2 separate regions of the Homo sapiens genome follow, and region 1 is linked to region 2. Evidence: promoter capture Hi-C in 16 types of primary human blood cells and fetal thymus (Javierre and others, 2016). All regions are on one chromosome and are shown on one strand. The core of a region is centred on a gene start or on the middle of the fragment in contact, and the rest is flanking DNA. Distances in the headings are between cores, read along the strand shown.

Region 1 (7,550 bases), core at 182-2,681, 530 kb after region 2:
CTACCTAGTAGTAGGAGACAACCAGAATGTAACTTGCTTTTAAATGAAGATAAATATTTCCCTACAAAACCCACCAACCCACCTGTAGTTTCAATGGATTCCCCTCACCCATAGCCCCTATTCTGACATACTTTCTTCCTAGAATGTATAGGCAAGGCCATCATCTAGCTTCAGCCATTCTTCTGCCAGAATCCAAGTTGCCTCAGCCAAAAGGTGGCAGCAACTGAGACAGGCAAGAGCAGAGGAGAGCATCCACATACCTAGGAAGCTTAAGGCCGAGCTGTTTGAGGAGCTGATAAAGTGGGTTGCATGTGGGTAGAAGAGGTAAAGCAAGATCAAACAAGGCAGACCAATGGGAGACATATGGGCCAAGAATAGGCAAACAAATCTTTCGAAGTATGGATTAAAAACAATGTTGTCTGAAGCAACAACACATGCATGAGTAAGATGGGAACTGGCTGGAAGTATCCAAGAAAAAAATAAACTAGGAGATGAGATATCTGAAGTCAAAGCCAGGAGGGCCAAAATAGCAGCGTAAAATCCCAGAGGCAACCATATGCTCATATCAGGCAAATGCAGTCTACAGATGAATGGTTTCTCCATTCAAAAAGTTCCTTCAGTCCTTCCCCTTCCTCAGCCTTACTCAGGCCCAGGAATAACTAAGGCTTTCCTCCTCTACATCTCTTGCTAGTGAAAAAGAAAAAGGCTAGATATTTTTGTAGATTATGAAACAAATATCATTTATGAGCTCAAAATTTTAAATACAGTAATGGAGTTGGTATAACATGCTCTGTTTGCTCTGTTGCTAAATACACACAGTCAAAAATATAAGACAGGAGCATGGAATTGATTTACTCACAAATATTTTCTTTTCTAATCACAATGTGGTTCCCTGCAAAATCCATTATGATCAAAGATGCTCTTTAACCCCTTTGTTATCTTACTTTTCTGGTTTTTTTATATTAAATATTTATAATGGGCACTATTATTAATAGGGTGGTTCCCTGGAAGTACAGAAAAGGGAGAAAGGCTAATGTAACTGCCTGTACATAATTTTCCAAAACACAAAGTGAGGTCAGCAACTCCTTCTTTAACATTAGTGGAACTATTCATTGGTACCTAAATACAGGAAGCAGTGTCTTCCAAAGTGGTGTCTGCCTCAAACAAATTGTCAGTGTTACAATTTTCCATTTTACACTGATGTAAATCACACCAGTAATGCAAGCATAGCAATTAGCACCACCGCATGGGCCTAGCAGATAAAGTATATAAAGTCCAAACTCACAGGAACTGTCTTTTAAATAACTAATTTTAACAGAAATGAAAACATTCAGTCCCCCAAATCCATAGGTTAGGAATATGAAAGGAAACAGAATAATAAACAATCATCATTACTACCAGGAATACTAAATTATATATACACACACACACACACACACACACACACACACACACACACACATATATATACAAAATTTTTTGCTTACCTAAAGAACTGTTTCCTGTGTAGTTGCTTTAGTAATGTAGGAAAAAATTTGTACACCTATGGAAAACTGCATTGTCTACAGTACATCTTTCCTATGTATCTGATTCTGATTCTTTGAGAGCTGTTTTATAACTGTGTAAGTTGTAGATAATTAATAGAAAAACAAAATTACTTTTATCTATAGACATGCAAACTCTGAGTATAACTGACTTCCCACTGTGAAAAAGTCCGTTTTGCCTCCCTTTGTACATCTATTTCAATATTCCTGAACTAAAAATATGTATGTTTTTAAACTCTCCTTTGAACTGGTTATAACACCTTACTAGTTCCTTCTTTAATGATTTAAGTAAAATCTTTAACACTTGTTAATTTTACATCTGTATGAAACTCATAATTTTCTTTTTTGAAATTTATATTTTAACAGTAATTTTTGAGAAAATAATCAGCTACTTTTTGAAATGTAGGAGAAATATTGATATTTGCCATTGATGTTTTCTCAGTTATGCTGCTAAATTGAATCATGAATATAGCTATCACCCAGGAAAGGTCTAGAGGCTTTGGGACCCAAGGGTGATGAAGCTCCAAATCAGAAGCTGACAGTAATCCAGGTAAAGTGTCATCAACAGAATGGAGGCAAAATAGGGGTTCTATCCATGCTAGAGAAAGGGAGGGAAGATAGGGGAGCCCCCTGAGTAGAATGGGGTTCTTATTTAGGAACATAGAACATCCTCTGTTTTTGTAGTTTCATAGCTATATGGCTACCTCCCAAAGACAATCCTGTCCACTCTGCTTGCCAACCACGGATCACGTTAGGGCAATGCTTGTTGATTAAGGGCCTGTTTGCTGTATTTACTCTTGGTTTTTTAGGAATCCAATGAACATTATTCTCATCACATCCTATAATTGTGAAACAGTGTGAATGTTTAAAATGCTAGCAGTATATGATTAAAAATAAACAAAAGTACAGATGTAATAACTTGAAAATGATGAGAAAAAATGATGTATGATACATATATACAGGGGATACATGTTACTGATTATACAATTCCTCTGAGATTTCTTCTTGAGGATTGATGATGGAAGCAAGGGTTTTCTGCTCAAAAAGATGAAAGCTTAAAAGAATAAAACACATTCTGACTCTAATGTGTCATGAACTCACCCACAGAATACAGAAAGTATACCTCAGACTTCTCCATTCAAGGGCATTTTTTGCTATAAAAATAAATGAACCTTTTTTTTAAAATTCCAAAAATGGTAAATAAATTTTACCACCAATATATAGCATTCCTCATATAGAACTTGGTTGCAGAACCAAGCCAATATTCAGGAAAGTGTCCTCAGAAATAGCTAAAGCTTGGATCATTAAATAATTTTGTACAGAGGAAATTATATGCAAGTACATAAAAGTCCTGGTCTCTTTATGGAAGGAATTTCTCAATGCTAGAGGTTTGGGGTTTTTCAAATTAAAAACTTCCAGATGCTTAACATGTATGGTAGTACTAAGTCACACTTGTCAGACTTGCTGCTTAAAATCCTGGGAAATTGTCAGTATGTCTATAGGGGTTGGGAAGGAAATTTAGGAAATACAGTTTGTTTAGTTAAGTCTCTTTTTTTGTAGTTTATAATAGCTTTGGTTGGCATGTATCAGGGGCGTCCAATCTTTTGGCTTCCCTGGGCCACATTGGAAGAATTGTCTTGGACCACACATTAACATTAATGATAGCCAATGAGAAAAAAAAATTGCAAAAAGACTCATAATGTTTTAAGAAAGTTTACGAATTTGTGTTGGACTACATTCAAAGCCATCCTGGGCCACATGCAGCCTGCAGGGACATGGGTTGGACAAGCTTGGCCTATATGGTCTTTCCAGCCTTTCTTACTTGTTCAACTTTCCTATCTTTGTTGCTTTACTGATAGTCTTTTTGCAGAAGACAAAGTAACCAGTTAAAAAAGAAGTCATTTTCTCTTCCAGTCTTCCTTGAAGTCCATACTTTGAGACTGTGTATTAAAGAGAAAATAAATTGCTCATCAACACTTGATAACTTGTAGAACTGCTGTGTCATTCTGTGTCCTACCAGACAAGTGACGAAGGTGCTTCACTTAGCCAAACAACTGTCCACAGCTAGCTACTCATACAGTAAACAGTGCTGCTGATGACAGTGGGCATTCATTTCAATGCGAGGTAGAGTATTGTCTTTCAAATTTTCTTTTGCAGTACTTATTACAGTACGATTGCAGCCAGATTTATACTTTCTATGTGAAATGTATTGTATATCTTGCTCACTATTGGCTAAAATCCTGTTAATTCCTAGAGACTTCTTCCTAGTACTACTTATGTGCAATTCATGTATTCTCATTGTGCCATCAATTTAAATTTCAATATACAAACATCATCATTTTTATACACAACCAAAAATCAAATCAAGTAAGAAAGTCTCAGAGATCTTAGAAGTATCTTTAGAAGATCCTAGAAGTCTTATAACGTATATTTTCTATAAATAACATAATTTAGGGGAGAGTTATTTTTCATATACTACCTTGTGGACTAAATATTAACTATTCATCAAAAAATCAAGTGCTTTAAGTAAATACATTTTAAAAGAATGAATTGCTGTAACTTGGTAATAAAGCTCCATATGAATATCTAGAATTAAAAAATAAGTAAAAATATAAGGGAAGAAATTTGAAGAAACACAGAAAATTGTCATTAAAAGAACAAGAACAATATTGTCACTTGAAGTCTTAAAAAATAAGTGACTTTAAGAAAAAGGATGAAGTGAGATGTAGATTTTTCTAACGAACAGTACCATGCTCAGTTACACAGTGCATTTACCCAGCTTTCCTGTGACACTATTATTACATCAGCTTCCTTGCTAGAATACTCTGACCCATTAAAGAGATGATATTATATGAATAGTCACTTTTAGACTTTAATTTGAATACATAATTTTACTACCATCATCTAGTCATGCTTACAGTACAGTATTTCAAAGATCACTTCTGTGTTGACAAGTGTAAGTCCTCTGGGGCTTGGACTTGCATTAATTTTCTAATAGTGTCCTATGGAGTCCTAAGGTTCTTTGGAGATGCCTCAGGGGCCAGCATCGGGGAGAGAGGTGGGCAGCAGAAAGAAAGCATGGAGGCTATTGGCTTCTGCCTGCTCTAGTCTCTGAGGTCAATCAGTGTAGCTAACATTGCTTCCAATTTCATATTATGGGGTTTCTCATATAATTTCATTTTTAAAAAAGGTTCAGCCTTTTAAAGAAATGTTATAAAATCCCTGTACTAATTAATCTCCGAGATTTGTATTAGTTTTAATATGTTATGGCTCACAAAGTTCTCAGAGAAAATGTTTAAAAGGCATGGGGATGAGAATAGTAATGCATGGAAAGAGATGCACCATATTAAAAGCCTCAACCCACATTTTCAGATCTTCATCATAAACATCTTGCTGTTTTACAGAGAACTTTCTATAGAGAGCTCTACGATGAGCCCTAGAGATACATAGATACAAACCAGAGCCCCTGCCAAGGAGTTCACAAGTGAGATTAGTAATACAGCTGTACCATGAGACCGCTTATCTGGGAAGAGACTGTAAGTATATCTATGGGGGTTTGGAGAGCCCGTAAGTGACACTGGTAGTAGAACAGAATTATACCATGAGACCACTTACCAGTTAGCATGTGTCAGGATCTGCCCACAAAAGTCACTGGATCCTTGACCCACTTAACCCACTTGATTCCCAATCAAGTTGATAACCATCCTGAGAAAAGCAGTTATTTAAGAAGCATTTTTCCATTTGAACATCATCTGCTCTGACCTTGTGCCCTAATTCTTTCAGTAAAAAATGATTTTTAGTGTTCCAAAGTTCACTTAGGAGCCCTAGAACCGGCCAGCATTTCTGGCATGACTTTAAAGTAAAAGCATTGGTTTTTGAATGTGGTTTGTGGAAATCACTTTCATCTTATGATCATATCATATATTATCTTAAAATGCCAGCTGGAATCTGGAGTCCCTGAGATGACAAATTGGGGTTTCATAATTCCTGGAAGGGTAATACAAACAACTTAACCTTTGACAGCTCCCAGCATTGACCTAAGACATCAGAATGCTAAGAAATGGATCAATTTTCCTGACATATTTCACTGTAGCATCTTAAAGATCAAAAATGGAGGTATAATACAAAGCTATAACAGAGAATTCCTCTGGCTCCCTAACTATTGTCCAGAATTATATAACAATAAGAACTCTAAAATATCAAGCTTTCTAAGTATGATGATAAAGAAATATGATTCTGAGAGCTAAGGGGATAAAGGGGGCTTTTTCCTCCCCTCTTTTACTCTCCTTACACGTGAACTCTTTGGTAAACAAGGGAAAAAATAGACTTTACCCCTTCCCTGACCAGCTACTTTTAGTTAGACAGATTCTGACTCTCAATATTACCATAATGTACAAACTAGAGCTGGCTACAATTCATACAATTTACTCAGCCACTTAGCCTAAATGTGAAAATTGTGTTTTAAAATGTGCTGACCACACTTCAAATACAAGAATAAAAACATTGTGTACATAAACCAGGAAACTAGAGCTCCTAAAATCTAAATGATTAACACGCAAATGAACAGACATAGTCTTGGTATTCATGACAAATAAGGTCTACATCTACTAAATATGACTTTATAGCAAAAAGATGAATTTAGCAACAAGACTAAATAACACAATATGAAGAAAAATAAAAAATGCGCTTCAAATCTCATATTATGTGGCAACTTAACATTGAAATGAAGACTCCAGATGACATTATGTCAAAAGCATGACAGTGATTCCAAATGATTCTGGATTTTGAGAAATTCCAAAATGTAAGTACAAAATCCTCAACAGGTAAGTTCAATTACATTTAGTTCATTTATTCTATCTACTGGGACACTAGCTTAAACTTCATATCTGTGAATTTATCTACTAAATGAACTATTTGACTAATATAAATGTGAAATCTACTAGATGCTTTTAAATATCTTAAAGCTGATAGGACACTAGAGTTTTCAAATATAGGTGGAAGAAATTCCTTGCTTCCTCCATGAATCTTTTTCATTGCAAACAGAAGTCAAAAGATAGAAGTCAGCTAGGGGTTTAACTGGGAAGGAGGCAGAAGAGAGGAAGTACGCTATTCAGCTCAGTTCCTCCTCCTAGAGGTCACAAAGGGGAGGTGCCTGCCATCTGGTGCCATTTCCTCAATGGCTCCTTTCATTTAAATGAATCACAGAATAGTCATTTGGAGGAATATATGATGCCAATGAAAAGTGCTCAATTTTAATTTGTAAGTGATTTCCACTTACTTCTGCTTCTCACTCTTCTATACTTAACTTTTTTAAAACAGTCAATTTTAAAATAATATTTCTTAATTGCAAGATTTCTGAATAAATCCCAAATGAAGCAGTAACTATCCATGTCTAAGAATTGAGTATGTGGGCATACTACAGTAATTTTTAACACAAACCAGGGAAAAGGTGCTAAATATCATGGTGCGTTAAACCACCACATGGAACTTCACCCATATTGGCAAACCAGGGAGGCTGGGGATGCATCTATATTTAACCATTGCACACTAGGCTATAGCCGCAGCCCGGATTGACTCATACATTGTTTTCACATTCTCAGCTTCCTTAAAACCACCAAATAATTGTTTATAAAGTGATAGTATGAAATAAAAACCTTTTTCATGATAGGTTCTGGACGGTTTCCACTCAGGATAACATAGATTGATGTTATTTGGATAAATGTCTTGTGAGGTTCCCTGAAACAGGAAATGCCCCCCAGGGCTGCAAAGCAGTCCTGATTCTGACATATTTCCCCATCATCTCTCCATTCACCTAATCCTGTTAGTAAGAGGATGCCCCTTCTCCATCCCTAGACCTAAGCCTGACATTCAGATACTATTTTCATTAACATCATGTAGTTGATTTTGCACAATTACAAAGCAATCAGAAGCACAGTAGGATATTATGGCCCTGAGAGGCTTCTTATGTCTACATATAATTTGAATGAGCTAGAATGAATTAAACTC
Region 2 (7,659 bases), core at 747-3,246:
TTATTCTTCTAAGCATTTAATATGTTTTTTGAGCATAATAAGGTCATCCATACTTTTATTTGGATGAATGGCTGGATTATACATTTTAGCACATAGAAATTTCACAAAGGCTTCTAATCTTGGCTTTATGAACATTTAAGAACTAAAGTTAAATATATTTATTTATTTTGGTGATTTTGCATACATACAAAAAAACCCTCACACACATTGGAGGTAGTTCTAGTAGTAGAAATATACTAAATTGATATGTAACTGTTTAGAAGGAATTTTGATTATTACAAACAGTAGGTAACCTCAAATTTTAAAATTGCATAAGGTTGTGTTATATATTGATTTTTTTTAAGCATCATCAGCTGAAATGAAAATAGTATTTTATAAGAATTTCTTATTGGTTCAAACTCAGCTGTTAGTTTATACCTACAAGTTAAAATCCAAAAAAAAACTTTGTTAAGGATGTGAGCTGAAAGCTGCAGACTTCACATTGCCTTTTTAATACACTTTCCACCTTGCCCGTCAGACTTCAGGTAAAATTCTCCTTTATCCAGTCAGCCCATGGCTACACTCGTGCTTTTAGAAAATTTGTTCTGCTCATGTCAGAAACCATTAGGCATTTACCGGAATCTAACTAAGATTGAAAACTAACGCAGTGAGTGATTAGAAAAAGTAGGGTAGTGATTGATTAATGGGGAAAGAACTGGATTATTTTGATCCCACTTAGCGGCTGAGAGAGATGGAACTAGTCTTCCAAACCACCCAGAAACCCCTCCAGTTGGGGTGAGGAGCTTCAGTCTGAGAAACTGTCCAGCATTCCTCCGAAGAGGATGCGGATTGTTTTCTTCCTTGTAACCCCAAGTGCTCTCTCATGCCCACTGGCCCGGCTGCAGTCGTTCATTTCAAGTGAATATTGCAGACGGTTGACTTTACAGTATTCGGGGTCATTAATCATCATTTATATTTACACGTATCTTTTTAAAAACCACGCACAAAACACTAACATATTAATCTCATCTTCTTGCTCCTGTGAAGTAGAATGTTATTCCTACTTTCATAGAAGAGACAATTAATTTGACAGAGGTCCACACAGGGAATATGACATCCAACGAGAGCTAGAGCCCCTGTCGGTCTTATATACTCACCTTTATATTACTAAGTCGTTTGTGACGGGGGCAAGACAAGCAGGCTGGGAAGAACACAGCTTGGGAGAGCAAGTTGGGTAAGAGGGATCTAAATAAAGTCTCTGCTTTTCTAACAGAAGGTGGTTTCAAGTTTTTCTATTGGCTAGATAAACCCTTCATCACTTAACCAAGCATGCAAGAAGAAAAAGCTCACTTTAAGTAAAAATTGTCAGAATTGGTTTGTTTGCGGAGCCATCATGAAAAAATATTTCTCAGTTCACAGTTTCCAAAAACTTTCGAGTTGTGTGGGGGTGGCGGAGCGCTATCCTTCTTCCACCCATCTCCCATCCCTGGAATGGTGTCTGCTAGGGCTATTGGCCGTCATCCACCAACCCCTCTAGCCGGCCGGCAGCCCCCGCTAGTCCGCCGGCTGCAGAGCGAGCCGGGGACTTTCGAGCGGGCAGGAAGCCCAGCGTTCCGGGTTCCAGGAGCGTTTCTGGGAGTCCGCGCGGCCCCTGCAGGTGGAGGCGCGCGGGGCGCGTGCACAGGCGCGGCGGGCACGGAGTGCGGCTGCAGCGCATCGTTTGTTCCCTAGCCGGCTTTCTCTCTCCACCTTCTGCACTCGTTATTGCCCCCTCTCTGCACTTACTTCCGGGCCAGGGTGCCCTTACCCGATGTGCTTCTTCCTCAGCCCCAGAGTGTCCCGCTTACTGTACAGCTCGCACATGGTGGCGGGGTGCAGGGCGCTGCGAAGGTGCAAGGTGCAAGGTCTGCGCGCCTCCTACGCGAGCCTGGGACTGCCTTGGCGGCCCCGGCCGGCCTTCCTCCCGTTATCCCTCCTGGCGTTCTCTTGCCCGGGGCGTCGGAGGTCACCGGTGGCGTCAACTAGCTAGGATCATCTCCCTTTTAAGTCTGGCTCTGGCGTTGCCCTTTGCCAAGCCCCTCCTCCTCCCCCGCCGGGGCCGCGGGCAGGTCGCCGGGCTAGCAGCTCATTCGCCACCACCCTGTCCTGCCAGGCCGGCTCGGCCCTACCCGCCCCTATCATTCCTCTGAATTCGCCTTTCATTCTCCTAACTTTGCCTCGTCTTTGCTTTTCCTCCTCCTCTGCCTGCGAATTCCCTCCTTCCCACGTTCTTTCTGGTTTCTTTTTAGTGTAGTCCTTTATTTTCTGGTAAAAATTCAGGAGTTAGGCGCTTCCCGGATCAAGACTCACTGCGCAGTCTGATAAGGTAACCTACCATTTACTCAGCACAAGGACGCGTCCTAACGAGAAATAACCCGGACTCAGCCTGTTATCTCCATTGGCAGTGATGATATATGCAGTGTTTCAAACATCTCCTTTAACAATGATTACACTTCTAATTCCTCTAACTATACAACTTACAAAACACATTCACATGACTTATCTTGTTCAGTCTTCAAAACAACCCTGAGAGATGACCACGAGTGTTACCCCATTTAATGAACGGGGAAAGTGAGGTTATTCCCTGTTCTAATGATTATATATCCACTTGATGCTGAAAACGGGACTCATTCTTAGATTTCTTGACTTCCTTCAAGATGGTCTTCTCACACAGATCATATCTGAAGCTAAATATGTGCACAGGTAGAAACTTTTTTTTTTTTTTTTTTTTTTTTTTTTTTTTTGAGGATGGAGTCTGGCTCTGTCACCCAGGCTGGAGTGCAGTGGCGCAATCTCGGCTCACTGCAAGCTCCGCCTCCCGGGTTCACGCCATTCTCCTGCCTCAGCCTCCCGAGTAGCTGGGACTACAGGCGCCCGTCACTACGCCCGGCTAATTTTTGTATTTTTAGTAGAGATGGGGTTTCACCATGTTAGCCAGGATAGTCTCGATCTCCTGACCTCGTGATCCCCCCGCCTCGGCCTCCCAATAGAATCTTAATTAACTGAATCATTAAATCATACATTATTTTAACTAGAAGTCATCTGGTTTAACTTCTCTGCTCTGTAGATAAGAACAGTGAGGCACAGGAAAGGTGAAGGTTTATTCAAGTTCACACAAACACTTAGTCATTGGGTTAAGGATAGGTCATTTTATTCTCTCTGTGTTTTGAAAGGGCAGCAGGGAAAGCCTAATTTGCATGTATCAACACATTTGATAAGTATTTGCAACTGATCTTTCTCTTGAAAAAAGTTATTAATATATATTCATGCACTGCAGGAGGAGTAGAATTGGATTGCCTAAGGTAGAAAGAGAAATGGAGTCCTATGAGGAACAGTGTGTTAATTCCAGATTTTAGGCCAGGCGCCGTGACTCACGCCTGTAATCCCAACATTTTGGGAGTCCAAACTGGGCGAATCACCTGAGGTCTGGAGTTCCAGACCAGCCTGGCCAACATAGCAAAACCCCATCTCTACTAAAAAAATACAAAAATTAGCTGGGCGTGGTGGTGGGCACCTGTAATCCCAGCTACCCAGGAGGCTGAGGCAGGGAGAATTGCTTGAACCTGGGAGGCAGAGGTTGCAGTGGGTTGAGATCATGCCACTGCACTCCAGCCTGGGCAACAGAGTGAGACTCCATCCCCCTCCACAAAAAAAAGAAAAAAAAAAGAATTCCGTGTTTTATAAATGAAGAGCAGGAAGCACTTTGGAGACTTGCAAGAAATCCCAGTTATGTAATCTTGGTCTAGTTCTGTGCCTGAAAGATATTGCCAACTGTATATCTACTCTCAAACCACCTTGACCTGGTGAAGTCATAGTCACACTTCCTTCATAAAACTTTATGGATTCTTGTTGTTAATATTCCCAGTGCCTTAAGAAACTCTGGATTAAGAGTCTTGGGTTCTAGATCTGGTTCTTCCATAAACCAGCTGGGCTTCTTAACCTTTCTGAGGCCCAATTTCTTTGTATTGAAAACTGAGCTCTGTGGCTGGTGGGGAGCTACACAGCTGTAATCCCAACACTTTGGGAGGCTGAGGCAGGTGCATCACTTGAGCTCAGGAGTTTGAGACCAGCCTGGGCAACCTGGTGAAATTCTGTCTGTACAAAAAATTTAAAAATGAGCCAGAGATGGTGGCGTGTACCTGTAATCTCAGTTACTCGGCAGGCTGAGGTGGGAGGATCCCTTGAGCCTAGGAGGAAGAGTCTGCAGTGAGCTAAGATTGTGCCACTGCACTCTAGCCTGGATGACACAGTGAGACCCTGTCTCATAAAAAGAAGAAACTCTCTGACTCAAAGCATTACAAGTAGGGCTTGAATGAGATCATGATTTGGTCTTTATAAGGGTAGAGTCCTGAACCCTCTTCTTTTCTCTTCACTCTTTCCCAAGAGTGCTACCTTATGTTTTAACCATTTATTTAGGAGAAGGCTTCTTAGATTCATTATCTTTTATGGGAAAGCAAGTCACTGTTACATAAAAGATAATTTCCCCATTATTTAACTTTTTTCACGATAGAATATATAACATTGACTGAGTACCAAGGACAGTCTTTAAATAAAGAACTGACACATAATGGATCAAAATAAGGATGGATGAAAGTCGACAGACATCCACACTATACAAAGCTTTATCAAAAAACAAATCCCAAGGTATTTTGGGGTATATTTTCTCATGTACTTCTCAAATGTAGAATTATTTGGTAGGAATGTATGCTGTAGTGTCTTTTCTCTCCAGAAGTTGACACTTGGGCCAGGCATGGTGGCTCACACCTGCAATCCCAGCACTTTGGGAGGCAGAAGTGGGCAGATCTCTTGAGATCAGGAGTTCAAGACCAGCCTGGCCAACATGGTGAAACCCCATCTCTACTAAAAATGCAAAAAATTAGCCATCTGTGATGGCATGTGCCTGTAGTCCCAGCTACTCAGGAGGCTGAGGCAAGACAATCACTTGAACTTGGGAGGTGCAGGTTGCAATGAGCTGAGATCATGCCACTCCAGCTCCAGCCTAGGTAACAGAGCAAGATTCTGTCTCAAAAAAAAAAAAAAAAAAAAGAAAAGAAAAGAAAAGAAAAAAAGAAGTTGACGTTCTTTCAGTTTTGGTCCTGACATTATTGATTGGCTCACTCTATTAAGTGAGTCCTGATCCGAAGGTCATAGATTTCTCAACAACCTAGGCTTGGCCAAACAAACCATACTTGTGCATGACTGAAATGAGGAGGTACAGCCCACGCAAGCTTGGGAAAATAAGAATTCCATTCAATAGTCCAATGAGAAGAGTCTGAATGGCAAGTTTTAATTTTCTTTTTGGTAAAAACCCTGTAAAAATGGGTGGGTGAACTGTATGTTCCCAAGAACAGAGATTATTCAGCTTATTAGACATTACTCAAGATGGAACATGGGCATTTGAAACTTTTCACTCTTTCCTGTTACCCTGTCATGCCCTAATCTACCCTACCCTTCATAGGGATTTGTATTTTCTGAAAATCATACATCATCTGGGACAAATGCTGGGTGTGGTGCTTTTCTGACCTGACACACGGTATCCAAAGAGGGCATCCTTGACCCCAGACAGAACTTTGCATGAGCAATATAGTTCACGTGTCTAAACTTCACCTGAGAAGTCTACACTGCTGTCAACGTGTGCATATAACTGTGCACACAGCTCCTAGTTCAGATTAGAAGGAGGCTGACAGGTTAAAACAGATGTCCATCTCTGGGAGTTCAAAACCACTTCAAAGAAGCCATTTGACCCCAAACAATATGTGTGGGCTGGGTGCAGTGGCTCACGCCTATAATCCCAGCACCTTGGGAGGTCAAGGCGGGTGGATAACTTGGGGTCAGGAGTTTGAAACCAGCCTGGCCAACATGGTGAAACCCCATCTCTACTAAAAATACAAAAATTAGCCTGGCATGGTGGCGTGCACCTGTAGTCCCAGCTACTTGAGAGGCTGAGGCAGAAGAATTGCTTGAACCCAGGAGGTGGAGGTTGCAGTGATCTGAGATCACACCACTGAACTCCAGCCTGGGTGACAGAGTGAGACTGTGTCTCAAACAAAACAAAACAATATGTGTGAATGTGTGCCTCTACTGTGTATCAATGGCACATCAAGATTGTGTAAACTGGCTAGGTACAATGGCTCACACCTCTAATCCCAGCACTTTGGGAGGCTGAGGTGGGAGGATCGGTTGAGCCCAGGAGTTCGAGACCAGCCCAGGCAACATAGTGAGATTCCATCTTTATTTTCTCTAAATAAATTAATTAAATTTTAAAATTGTATAAACCTTTTTCTCTACTCCCTTCATCCTGAAGTTCCCTTCCAAACTAAGTCCAGAGGAGTCTTCCAGACTTGTGTTTGTGTGTGGTGGAGGAGACTTCTGGAGAGGGGGCAGTAAGGTTATATTTTAAATACCCCAGGCTCATCTTAGTTCTTACTGAAACCTCTAGCCAACCTAGGAGCCACATACAAAACTCAAGAAGCTGATGACTGGTACTTGTACTTCATGGTGCTCCAGATGGAGACAGGGATCTAGAATATGGCTTCAGTTTATTTCTCGTGAGTTTATCTCCAATGGTGAAGTGGAGCAGAATATGCCACTGTAGAATAAAAGTTAATTTGAGCTGAAGGCATTTGAGAATCAACAGATGACAGAGAGGCTTGTTTTCTCAACTCCCTTATCTACCTAAAAGCAGAGTCTCCCAAACGAACTCAATCATCTTAAGTCCCCTCCCTAGGAGTTTCACAAAGAGGGAAGATTGACTCTTGTCGCCAGAGCCAAGAAGCCAGCTTCAGGATAAGAGATCGCCTAAGCAGATATTGCCACAAAGCTATCTTATCTCCCAAGTATTTTCCTAAGGACCCATTTATTCTTCCTAAATGTCCCATTATTATTCCTAAATGTCATTTTTTTCTCTTTTTTTCTTTTTGTTTTTTTTTTTTTGAGATGGAGTTTCACTCTTGTTACCCAGGCTGGAGTGCAGTGGCGTGATCTCAGCTCACTGCAACCTCTGCCTCCTGGGTTCAAGCGATTCTCCTGCCTCAGCCTCCCAAGTAGCTGGGATTACAGCTGCCTGCCCCCATGCCTGGCTGATTTTTTTGTATTTTTAGTAGAGACGGGGGTTTCACCATGTTGGCCAGGCTGGTCTCAAACTCCTGACCTCAGATGATCCGCCCGCCTTAGCCTCCCAAAGTGCTGGGATTACAGGCATGAGCCACTGCGCCCGGCCCATTTGTTTTTTTCGTAAGTGCTCTTCCTCTCTTCCTCTCCCTTCTTTTCTCCTCTTAAGATGGTTTATAAGCTCCCAATTCTTTTTTTTTTTTTTTTTTTTACATGGATTTTTGCTCTTGTTGCCCAGGCTGTAGTGCAATGGCACAGTCTCAGGTCACTGCAACCGCCACCTCCTGGATTCAAGTGATTCTCCTGCCTCAGCCTCCCAAGTTGCTGGGATTACAGATGCCCACCACCATGCCTGGCTAATTTTTTGTATTTTTAATAGAGACGAGGTTTCACCATGTTGGCCAGGCTGGTCTCGAACTCCTGGCCTCGAGAGATCTGCCTGCCTTGTCCTCCTAAAGTGCTGGGATTACAGGCTTGAGCCACTGTGCCTGGCCACTAACTGTTCTTTTAAGTCACACTTTTCTTTGTGCT

The links. The method cuts DNA at HindIII sites, captures the fragments that hold promoters and counts their contacts. A CHiCAGO score of 5 or more calls a contact.
Region 1: a fragment that was not itself captured here is called in contact with the fragment with the promoter of ETNPPL in region 2 in 1 of 17 cell types (megakaryocytes); the score reaches 5.7 in megakaryocytes.

What each region holds. Positions count from the first base shown.
Region 1 is chr4:109,287,544-109,295,093 of GRCh38, forward strand. All of the region lies in intron 3 of COL25A1 (collagen type XXV alpha 1 chain), which reads right to left. Among named protein-coding and RNA genes, the nearest start is that of COL25A1, 11 kb to the right of the region's middle. The HindIII fragment of the contact is 2,330 bases long and covers 267-2,596 here.
Region 2 is chr4:108,761,057-108,768,715 of GRCh38, forward strand. It overlaps ETNPPL (ethanolamine-phosphate phospho-lyase), which reads right to left and starts at 1,997. Exons shown (of 13, transcript NM_031279.4): 1 at 1,787-1,997. The coding sequence starts at 1,842. The HindIII fragment of the contact is 7,360 bases long and covers 1-4,636 here.